Linked DNA regions of Homo sapiens: region 2 is linked to region 1. The links are contacts of gene promoters, found by promoter capture Hi-C in human tissues and cell types (Jung and others, 2019). All regions are on one chromosome and are shown on one strand. The core of a region is centred on a gene start or on the middle of the fragment in contact, and the rest is flanking DNA. Distances in the headings are between cores, read along the strand shown.

The links. Contacts are between HindIII fragments. The study calls those that stand out against the background at their distance.
Region 2: a fragment that was not itself captured here is called in contact with the fragment with the promoter of ELN in region 1 in 1 of the 25 tissues and cell types used here (IMR-90 fibroblasts).

What each region holds. Positions count from the first base shown.
Region 1 is chr7:74,025,767-74,030,658 of GRCh38, reverse strand. ELN (elastin) reads right to left here and starts at 2,486. Exons shown (of 33, transcript NM_000501.4): 1 at 2,390-2,486. The coding sequence starts at 2,471. RefSeq lists enhancers at 1,159-2,130, 3,103-4,075. The HindIII fragment of the contact is 22,090 bases long and covers 1-4,892 here.
Region 2 is chr7:74,577,278-74,582,169 of GRCh38, reverse strand. The region is part of intron 22 of GTF2IRD1 (GTF2I repeat domain containing 1); the gene reads right to left. Among named protein-coding and RNA genes, the nearest start is that of MIR10525, 16 kb to the left of the region's middle. RefSeq lists a silencer at 396-690 and an enhancer at 653-1,154. The HindIII fragment of the contact is 6,229 bases long and covers 1-4,892 here.

The DNA.
Region 1 (4,892 bases), core at 1,237-3,736:
TGGGAGGCGGAGGTGGGAGGATCACTTGAGCCCAGGAATTCAGACCAGCCTGGACAACACAGCGAGACCCTGTCTCAATTTAAAAAAAATAAAAAAGGTAAAAAAATAAAAATAAAAAAGGAAAATAAAAGAAAAGGAAACCTCTGTTCCAAACCATCTTCAGTTCTGAAATCAGGAAAAAAAAAAAAAAAAATCCCTGATACTATTTCTGGGGGATGGGGAAGAATTATCCCTGGGTTAATTTCTCATGCTCACTTTTGAAACAGCCTGGGAGCTGTGCGGCTTGTCCCCTCCTCCTGCTCCCCCACCCCCGCAACAGGGTTCCTTCCTTGGAGCCGCTGAACTTGCATAAGTGACACCCTCCTCCTTGAGGGAGAAGCCAGGCTCCCCCAGGACAGCCAGGTGAGTGGCAGTGAGCATGTGACTGAGCGCTCCACTCCCTGTGTTGGCTCCCCGACCTCTGCAGACTTCAGTAGCACTTCTGTGCAAAACCCCACACGAGCTCATCAGTTCACACACCCCTTATTTGGACCTAGCAAGTCCAGCCACCTGGGACAGAGCTGAGATTGATCTCTGCAAAGTGTGAGGCCAGCTGGGCGTTTAGCGGTGTCACTGAGGACACAAGGAGAGAGCTGATTCTGCCTAGGGCATGCCTGCTTTAAGGACTCAGCCCCAAGCCTTCCCCTCCCCAAATGTTGCCTGCTAGCTCACTCCTAACCCCCTTGCCCCTTGACCTGGGGCAGAGAGCTGGCTGATACTAACCCCCGGGGACTGCCTTAGCCTGCCGGAGCCTCAGCTTCCTTGTTTGTCAAGTGATGATAATAATTTCTAATTCTCAAGGTTCCTTGATGATGAACTGCCACCCTATAGGTGGTGGCCCCATCTGGGAAGAAGGGTGGCTGGGTGTTTGGGGGCTACACCTGGGGAGGAGGCTGAGACGGACCCGGGGCTGCTGCTTTCAGGCCCTGGCTCGTTGCCCCTGCTGGGGCCCGCCTGTGGGTACCCATGTCCCTTGGCCTCATCCAGGTCCAGCAGCGGACCCTGCACAGGAAGCTGTTCAATCTCACGGAAACAGCTGCAGCTCCTGCCCAGGCCCTTGACTCCACCCCGTGGCCCTCCCGCCCCCCACTCAGCGTTTGGTTCTCATGGCAAGGAGGACTCCCGAGGAAACCAGACTCCACCCAGACCCCCCTACCAAATGCCCTCCTTTTTCCCATGCCCGGGAGCCTCTTCTGTCCTCCCCCGTTGGCCGCGGCATAGCAGCCCCACAGGGCACACCCTCAAACCCCATAACCAACTGTGCCTGGGTTGGGGCACATAGCAGATGGCCCAGCAGTGCCCCAGGATCCACTCCAGCCTCTGTCTCAGCCACACTGCCTCTGCCAGGAGACAGACACCTTCTCCAGCCCGCCTTTCCATGCTTGCGTGCCACATCGCACACACATTCACACACACAGATGTACACACTCCATAACACACACAGTGACAGTCCACACCAGTGTCACACCTGGATGCCAGATCGCCCATGTCTACATGTGTACATGTCTACATGTCTGTCAGGTGGCAGACTTTTGCACACACTAAGGAGCAGCTTCATATACCTCCTCCAAACATACGCATACACCTGCCTAAGGATGAACCTGTGAGCAGACATATGTACCCCTCCAGAAATCCCTTTCCCTGTTCAGTGACACAGCCGGGCATCTGAACACATGCACACCTGTGCATGCACACATACACACACGAGCACACAGCACGCTCATTCCTGTGTGCATGCACACACACACACACACACAAATGCATACCAGGAGTCCCTGCCTGCCTCAGCAGGGAGAACACAGCAGCAGCTTCCCAACCTGCAAACCCATCCTCAGCGGAGCCCTGACCTTCCTGACGGGGGGATCCCGGCTTCCCAGGGGTCAAGGAACCTGCTGAGGTCACACAGCTCACTGCGGTTGAGCTGGTATCAAGCCCAGGTTCCCTGTCCCCAGGGCTGGTGTGCACCCCAGCTGTGTCCACAGGTGTGCAGACTGTGGTGTCTCCAGACCCAGGGGTTCCCGCTGGGCCCTCCCCCAGGATGCTCTGATCCCCCTACAGGGCGGGCACCCGGGCACCTGAGCAGGGGCCCCCTCAGCCCTCGCAGGGCAGCAAAGCCTGGATGCTGGGCTGGGACTATTCTGAGTCGAGGGTGTCTCTTTGACAGGTTCCTCCTGGGCACGGGGCTGGCTCCTGGGAGGGGCAGTTCCGAGGACCCAGTGGCTGAGGGGCTCCCACCTGGGACCCCTTGCAGTTCCCAGGGACGAAGGTCTCCCCCTTGAGCGTCTAGTCACCTGGCCCAAAGGGCCCGCAGCTGTGGGCAGCGCTGGGGACAGGGGCGAGGGGTCCTTACCTCCAGGCCGAGAGGGGTGGAGGATGGACAGCAGGAGCAGGAGGACTCCGGGCCGCGGGGCCGCCGCCGTCAGACCCGCCATCTCGGGGAGAAATGCCCCAGCCCGCTCTCCGCACCTCGTTTTATCCCCAAAGCCTAATTGTTGCCTCGTCGGCTGTGAGGGAAAGAGGGAGGGAGAGAGGGCGGGCGGGAGGGCGGGAGAGGGGGGAGGCCTGGGGGAGGGGGCCGCGGGGAGGGGACAATTACGAAAGGCCCGGCTCACAAGCCTCCCAGGCCCGGGCTGCTGGACTGCGAGCTTTTTTCCTTGACACACACACGCACACACATGCACACAAGCACACACTCACACACACACACTTTCCCCCATCTCTTTCCCGCTTTCCCTCTGCGACTGTTCTTTCGCTGCTGGCCCTGTTCCCGCCAGAAAGAGCGAGGGGGGCCTCTGCCAGGACAGCCCTCGGGAGAGGAAGCAGAAGGGAGGGCCTGGCGGCCAGGCCAAAAATCCCAGCCCCAGCCAAGGCCCGAGTGGCCAGGCCCCCGCCCCTCCGGCTGGGCCCCGGGCCCAGTGTGAGGATACGGGCCAGCTGTCCCGCGCCTCAGCCCCCACCCCGGCCCTCCAGACTCCCCAACACCCCCAGGTCTGGCTAGAGACAGGTTCTGCCCAAAGCTGGGGAGGGGAGGCATTGGGCAGGTCTGGGGGTTTGGGGGGTGCGATGTCTACAGAGGCCGGGGGGCTGCAGGTTGAATGGCCTGGAAGGTAGGCCCGGGTTGGTATTGCTCTGGGAGGGATCTGGGGGGAAGGTAGGGGACCCTGGACAGGGCTGCATTCTGCAGGGGCCAAGGTCTCTGCCTAGCGCCTGAAGCTGGGGAGGAGGTGTTGGGTGGGTCTGGGGTGGATGCCTGCAGATGCCAGGGGGTTAGAGGCAGGGGAATGGCTTGGGAGTTAAGGCCATGTTGGTGCTGTCCCCAGGGGCATCTGGAGCACATGGAGGATCCCGACACACAGGGTTCTATTCTGCATGGGTCAAGGTCACAGCCCTATACCCAGCCCCATGCAGGCCGCAGGGTCTGGTAAAAATCAGGCTGGATCCCCAGGTGCCCTGTGGGGGAACAGGGAGGTGGGAGCCCCCCGCAGACTGACAGGCAGCCCAGCTTCCCATTATCACTGGGTCACCTCCCATCCCCACGCTGAGCACAGCTAGCGCCCACACCAGTCTGGGAGCTTCTCGACTGCTGTTCTCCCGGCCCCTCTGGGAAGGCTGACATTCCGCTGGTGGCCAGGAGGGGGCGGCCTGCACTGAAACAGCTGGGACCACGTTCCTGGAGAACTCTGCATTTCTGCCCCCAGGACTGAGCTGGACGGGGACCCTGGGGGATTTTGGGGGTTGGAGTGTGGGATGGAACAGGGGAGGGTCGTGTCCCCCACCCCTCACTTCCCACTACTGCTAGAGGAGAAGAAATGTGAGACCTAGAGAATAGGAGAGGGAAACTTGTTCCTTGTCCTAGGTCACAGCCAGTCAGGGAACAGCATGGAAGCCACACGCCCTGTGGGCTTTTCCCTGCACCACGATGGCTCCGAGGGATGAGTTAAAGACCCCTTGTGGAGGCAGGAGCACTGTGGCAGTCTGGAGTGCCAGCAGGGGTGGCTCAGCGTGGAAAGGTCAAATGCAGGCATTGGTCAAAGGCAGGTATTGGTGGACCTAGAAGTAAATTTCTGGCTCTAGCCTTTCTGGTAGGAAAACCTCTCCACAGAGCATCAGTTTCCTTATCTGTCTACAGGTGATCAGTATTCCTAGCTAAGAGATTATTGCAAAGACAAATACAACGTGGTCTTGTATTTCTGCTAGATCAAAAATGCTCTGTGTTCAGCTGGTGCTAGGACTGGTGTCAATACCACAGTTGCCGTCACTCGCTCTGCAAGTACTCTGCTTCTAGGACAGCTATCAGGCTTTGGTCTATACGGGGCCACCCCAGGACCCTGGACAAACCCTTCCTTTTCCCTGGGTCTTTGGAGGGAGCAGCTCTGGAATTTTGGAAGGTAGGGGCATGCTGGGAGAATTGTCTTGAAGATGTACGCACACAGCCAGTGTACAGCTCTTACTTACGGTGTGTGTTTATTTGGGGGTGCTTTGAGGGTAGCTGATGGAGATTATGCTGGGGTGAAAGCCCCCCCAAGCCACCCTTTGTTGGTGGGGTTAGGGGCTGCTCAGGGGCAGGGTCTGAAGCTCGATGCCCAGGATGTGCCTGCTGCAGGGGAGGGGAAGTCAATGGTATATCTGCGTGCCTCCGCCTGCCTGGGAAGGAGGAAGGCAGGGGCTACTGTGGGGAGCTGGACCCCTCTCTTCTCGAGGCAGTGACACGGGCAGGAACCAGCTTTCAGACTTGCAAACCGCAGTCTGCACAGAGTCTTTATTAATTCCAGGACGGGGAGAGAGTCCGGAGCCAGGGGGAGAGAGTTTGCAGTGGGGGGATCCAGGAGGGGTGTGGAGGGGCACTCACAGGA
Region 2 (4,892 bases), core at 1,436-3,935, 550 kb before region 1:
AGGTGTGCAGGCTGGCACCAGTCTTGCCCGACAGGAATCGTGGCCCCCGCTGCAACCGAGACAGCTCGCCCACGCACCCTGGTTAGCCCTGAGGGAGAATGCTAAGATCCTTGCTAACCCAGATGGCCCAGCCAAGCTTTATTTATTTATTTATTTTTTTGAGTTGAGATGGTCTGGCTCTGTTGCCCAGGCTGGAGCGCAGTGGAGCAATCTCAGCTCACTGTAACCTCCGCCTCCTGAGCTGAAGCCATCCTCCATCCTCAGCCTCCTGAGTAGCTGGTGCTACAGGTGTGTGCCACTATGTCTGTCTAATTTTTGTGTTATTTGTAGAGACAAGGTCTCACTATGTTGCCCAGGCTGGTCTTCAACTCCTAAGCTCAAGCAATCCACCCACCTTGGCCTTCCAAAGTGCTGAGATACAGGCGTGAGCCATCGTGCCCAGACCAGCTGAGCATCTCGGAGAGCTGCAGGTGGGGTCATGAGTCCTCTTTCCCAACAGAGCCAGGCTCCTGCCACCACCACCAGGTCGCCACCAGGGAGTTCCCCAAGGACTGCTGTGGGCAGTGGTGGCCTCGGCCTCAGGTGGGGCAGGGCAGCTCCAGCATGCCCGGTCACCTTTGAGTCTAATCTGCTCACGGGAAAAACACGGATCAGAGAATCGCCTCAGAGAGCTGCTGAGGACACTGCAGGGGCAGGAGCAATACCGGGCCCTTCAAGGCCAGGGTCACAAGCCCAGTGGTCTACCCAAGACTGATTGCCTGGGTTCAAATCCCAGCTCTGCAATCAGCTCGCGACCCTGGGCAAGTCCCTGAACCACTCGATGTCCTCATCTGTAAAGCAGCAATGGGCCGGGCATGCGGTGGCTCATGCCTTTCATCCCAACACTTTGAGAGGCCAATGTGGGTGGATCAGCTGAGGTCAGGAGTTCAAGACCAGCCTGGCCAACATGGTGAAACCTCATCTCTACTACTAATAAAAAAAAATTAGCCGGGCATAGTGGCGGGTGCCTGTAATCCCAGCTACTTGGGAGGCTGAGGCAGGAGAATCACTTGAACCCGGGAGGCGGAGGTTGCAGTGAGCCGAGATGGCGCCACTGCACTCCAGCCTGGGCAACAAGAGCAAAACTCCGTCTCCCCCCAACCCCCCCCAGAAAAGGGGGTTTAGTTTACCGTCCGGAACACCAAGTCAGCAAACCTATTCTCGGGAGGACCTGCCTGAGCTCCCCTGAACCCAGGCTGGCTGTAAAGACACCCACAGTTGCAAACATTTCAGAGTGTTCTCTGTTTGGAAATGTCATAGTTAGGACTCAGTGTGTGTAGGGTTTCACCTTCATGTTTCTGCCCCCAGTGCTGTGCAGAAAGTCCTGCTGAAAGAACCCATCCCCGCAGCAGCGACCTCCTGCCCACTGCCCCTGGACAGTGACACCTTTGGTGGACAGGCCTTCCCTTGACATTTTTCCTGCCCCCCTCCTGCTCATTCTGTTCTTCGGTCTCCTCTCTCTCTTTAACGCTGGCTGGGCAACTCTCATCTTATCTTTACCAGTCTGCTGTCTGTTAGCCCAAGGAGTAACTGAAATTTGCCAAGGGGGAAAAAAAAAAGACAACCAAGCTCACTGAATCACAGCCATGCTATGTACACAATTTTAAACCAACTGGCTCGGGTGGTGCCTGGGCTGGCTCCACGGCTCTCTCTCGGGGCAAAGTGCAAGAGCCCTGGCCAGCCCTGACTCTCCCCGCCTAGTTAGAGGACTTCAGCTCAGACTGACGACCTCACGTTGGTAATTACGACCATTCACAGCAGGGAGACGCAGCCAGCGAAGGGCAAGGGCGGTTTAGAGGGGAGAGACTGCGATCTGTAGCAGAAGCGTGGGATAATGGTCCTTCTCTCCCCTCCTGAACCACTTCACAGAGCCCCAACTCCCTGCCAGGCCCGGGCAGAGTTCACGGCTGCAGCGATTGCACCACTGCATTCCAGCCTGGGTGACAGAGTGAGACCCGGTCTCGAAAAAATAAAAAAGCTACATTCAGGTTCAGCTTTTAACCCCTTGTAGGGCCTGCGCACAGGTTTAGCAGGAATTCCATCAGCTCCATTTCATGGATGAGATAACTGAGGCCTGGAGAGAGGAGGGCCAAGCTGCAGCGGGGCAGAGACCTGTGGACCTGTGCCCAGGCCAGTGCTCATGAGCCTGTGGTTCTTCTGCCATCCCAGACCTGCACCTGGACACTGCGTGCAGGAGGGACCCTTAAGGCTTGACCCATTTTGATCCCCCTTTTCCCCACTGTATGCAGGCATTCAAGCAGGGGCTTGTCCAATCCATCCCCTACCACAGCCTGCCCTATCCAATTTCCTTCAAAAACTCATGATTTAAAAAAAAATGTAGCCTGGGCAACATAGCAAGATCCCATCTCTATAAAAATGGAAAAATTAGCTGGGCATGGTGGCCCACACCTGTAGTCCCAGCTACTGGACTCTAGCCGGAATGACAGCAAGACACTGTCTCTACCAAAAACCCATTTTACAAAGGGAACTGTAGTTTTTTTTTTTTTTTTCTTAAGATGGAGTCTTGCTCTGTCGCTCAGGGTGGAGTGCGGTGGCGTGATCTGGGCTCACTGCAACCTCCGCCTCCCAGGTTCCAGCAATTCTCCTGCCTTAGCCTCCTAAGTAGCTGAGACTACCGGCACGAGCCACCACGCTTGGCTAATTTTTGTATTTTTAGTAGAGACGGGGTTTCATCATGTTGGTCAGGCTGGTCTTGAACTCCTGACCTCAGGTGATCCGCCTGCCTCGGTCTCCCAAAGTGCTGGGATTACGGGCATGAGCCACTGCGCCTGGCCTTCTTCCTCTTCCTTTTCAAAAAAAATTTTTTTTTAGAGATGTAGTCTCATTTTGTCACCCATGCAGTAGTGCGATCCTAGCTCACTGCAGCCTTGACCTCATCCTCCTGCCGCAGTCTCCTGAGTACATGGGCCTACAGGTGCATACCACCACGTCTGGCTAATTTTAACATTTTTGTAGAGACAGGATCTTGCTATGTTGCCCAGGTTGATCTCAAACTCCTGGCTTCAAGCAATTCTTCCGCCTCAGCCTCCCAAAGTGTTGGGATTACAGGGGCGAGTCACCAGGCTGGGCCTTAAACTTTTTAACGGATCTATGCTTCTCCTCCTCTGCTTTTTTTTTTTTTTTGAGACAGGATCTCGCTCTGTTGCCCAGGCTGGAGTGCAGTGGCATGATCTCAGCTCACTGCAACCTCTGCCTCCTGGGCTGAAGCGATCCTCCCGCCTCAGCCTCTTGAATAGCAAGCATGCCACCATGCCTGGCTAATTTTTTTGTATTTTTAGTAGAGATGGGGTCTTGCCATGTTGCCCAGGCTGGTCTCAAACTCCTGAGCTCAAGGGATCCTCCCGTCGTGGCCTGCCACAGTGCTGGGTTTACAGACATGAGCCATCGTGCCCGGCTATAAGTGTTAATTGCATTCTTAGTAACAGCAAAACAATGGAAGCAGCCCAATCCCCAAGGAGGGGAGAGAGAGGAATTGCATCATGGTAAAATTCCACTCAATGGAAGATTATAGAGCCATGAGAACTAAGAAGCTACAGCTACACACTTCAGCATTATGTCAACCAAAGCTAAGTGGAAAACAGCAAGTCCCAGACTCTATTCAATAACACGCCTTTGTCATAAAAGTAAAATTATAGGCTGGGCGCGGTGGCTCATGCCTGTAATCCCAGCATTTTGGGAGGCTGAGGCGGGTGGATCGTGAGGTCAGGAGATGGAGACCATCCTGGCTAACACAGTGAAACCCCGTCTCTACAAAAAATTAGCTGGGCGTGGTGGCGGGCACCTATAGTCCCAGCTACTCGGAAGGCTGAGTGAGGCAGGAGAATCACTTGAACCTGGGAGGTGGAGGTTGCAGTGAGCCAAGATCACACTACTTCACTCCAGCCTGGGCGACAGTGCGAGACTCCGTCTCAAAAAAAAGAAAGTAAAATTATAAGCAAAATGAAATAATTTTTGTTTAGGCAAACATTACATGCAATAAAATAATTTTTAAAAAATTAACCCGTGAGCCTGGCGTGGTGGCTCACACCTATAATCTCAGCACTTTGGGAGGCCGAGACAGGAGGATCACTTGAGGGCAGGAGTTGGAGACCAGCCTTGGGTAACATAGAGAGACTCTGTCTACAAAAAATTTAAAAGTAGCTGGTACAGTGGCACCCAGCTATAGTCCCAGCTACTTGGGAGGCTGATGCGGGAGGATTGTTTGAGCCCAGGAGTTGGAGGTTACAGTGAGCTATGTGATAGTGTCACTGCACTCCAGCCTATCTCTACAAAAGTAAAAAATAAAATATGAGCTGGGCATGGTAGCACGTGTGCTTGTAGTCCTAGCCACTCGAGGGGCTGAGGTGGTAAGGATGGTTTGAGCCTAGAAGGTCCAGGCTGCAGTAAGCTATGACTGTGCCACTGCACTCCTGCCTGGGCAAGAGGGAGACTGTCTTTAAAAAAAAAAAAAATTAAAAAAGAAATCAACCAGTGAAAAATGATTATATCATGGAGGAGAACAGGCATAGAAGACAGTTTTGGAAATTTGAATAAAGACCATGTATTAGATGACAGGGAATTATTAAGTTGTATAAGTACGATGATGCTATTGTGAGTATGTAAGATAACAGTGTTTTCTTAGGAGATGTGCATTGAAACATTTAGGCACGAAGAGTCAAGATGTTTGCACCTTACTTCAAATAGAGAAAAAGAAAGAGAAATTATGTGTGTGCGCGTGTGTGTGAGAGAGAAAGCAGGGAAAATTGGCAATATGCTAAGAATTACTGAACCCAGCTGGGCGCGGTGGCTCACGCCTGTAATCCCACCACTTTGGGAGGCTGAGGCGGGTGGAT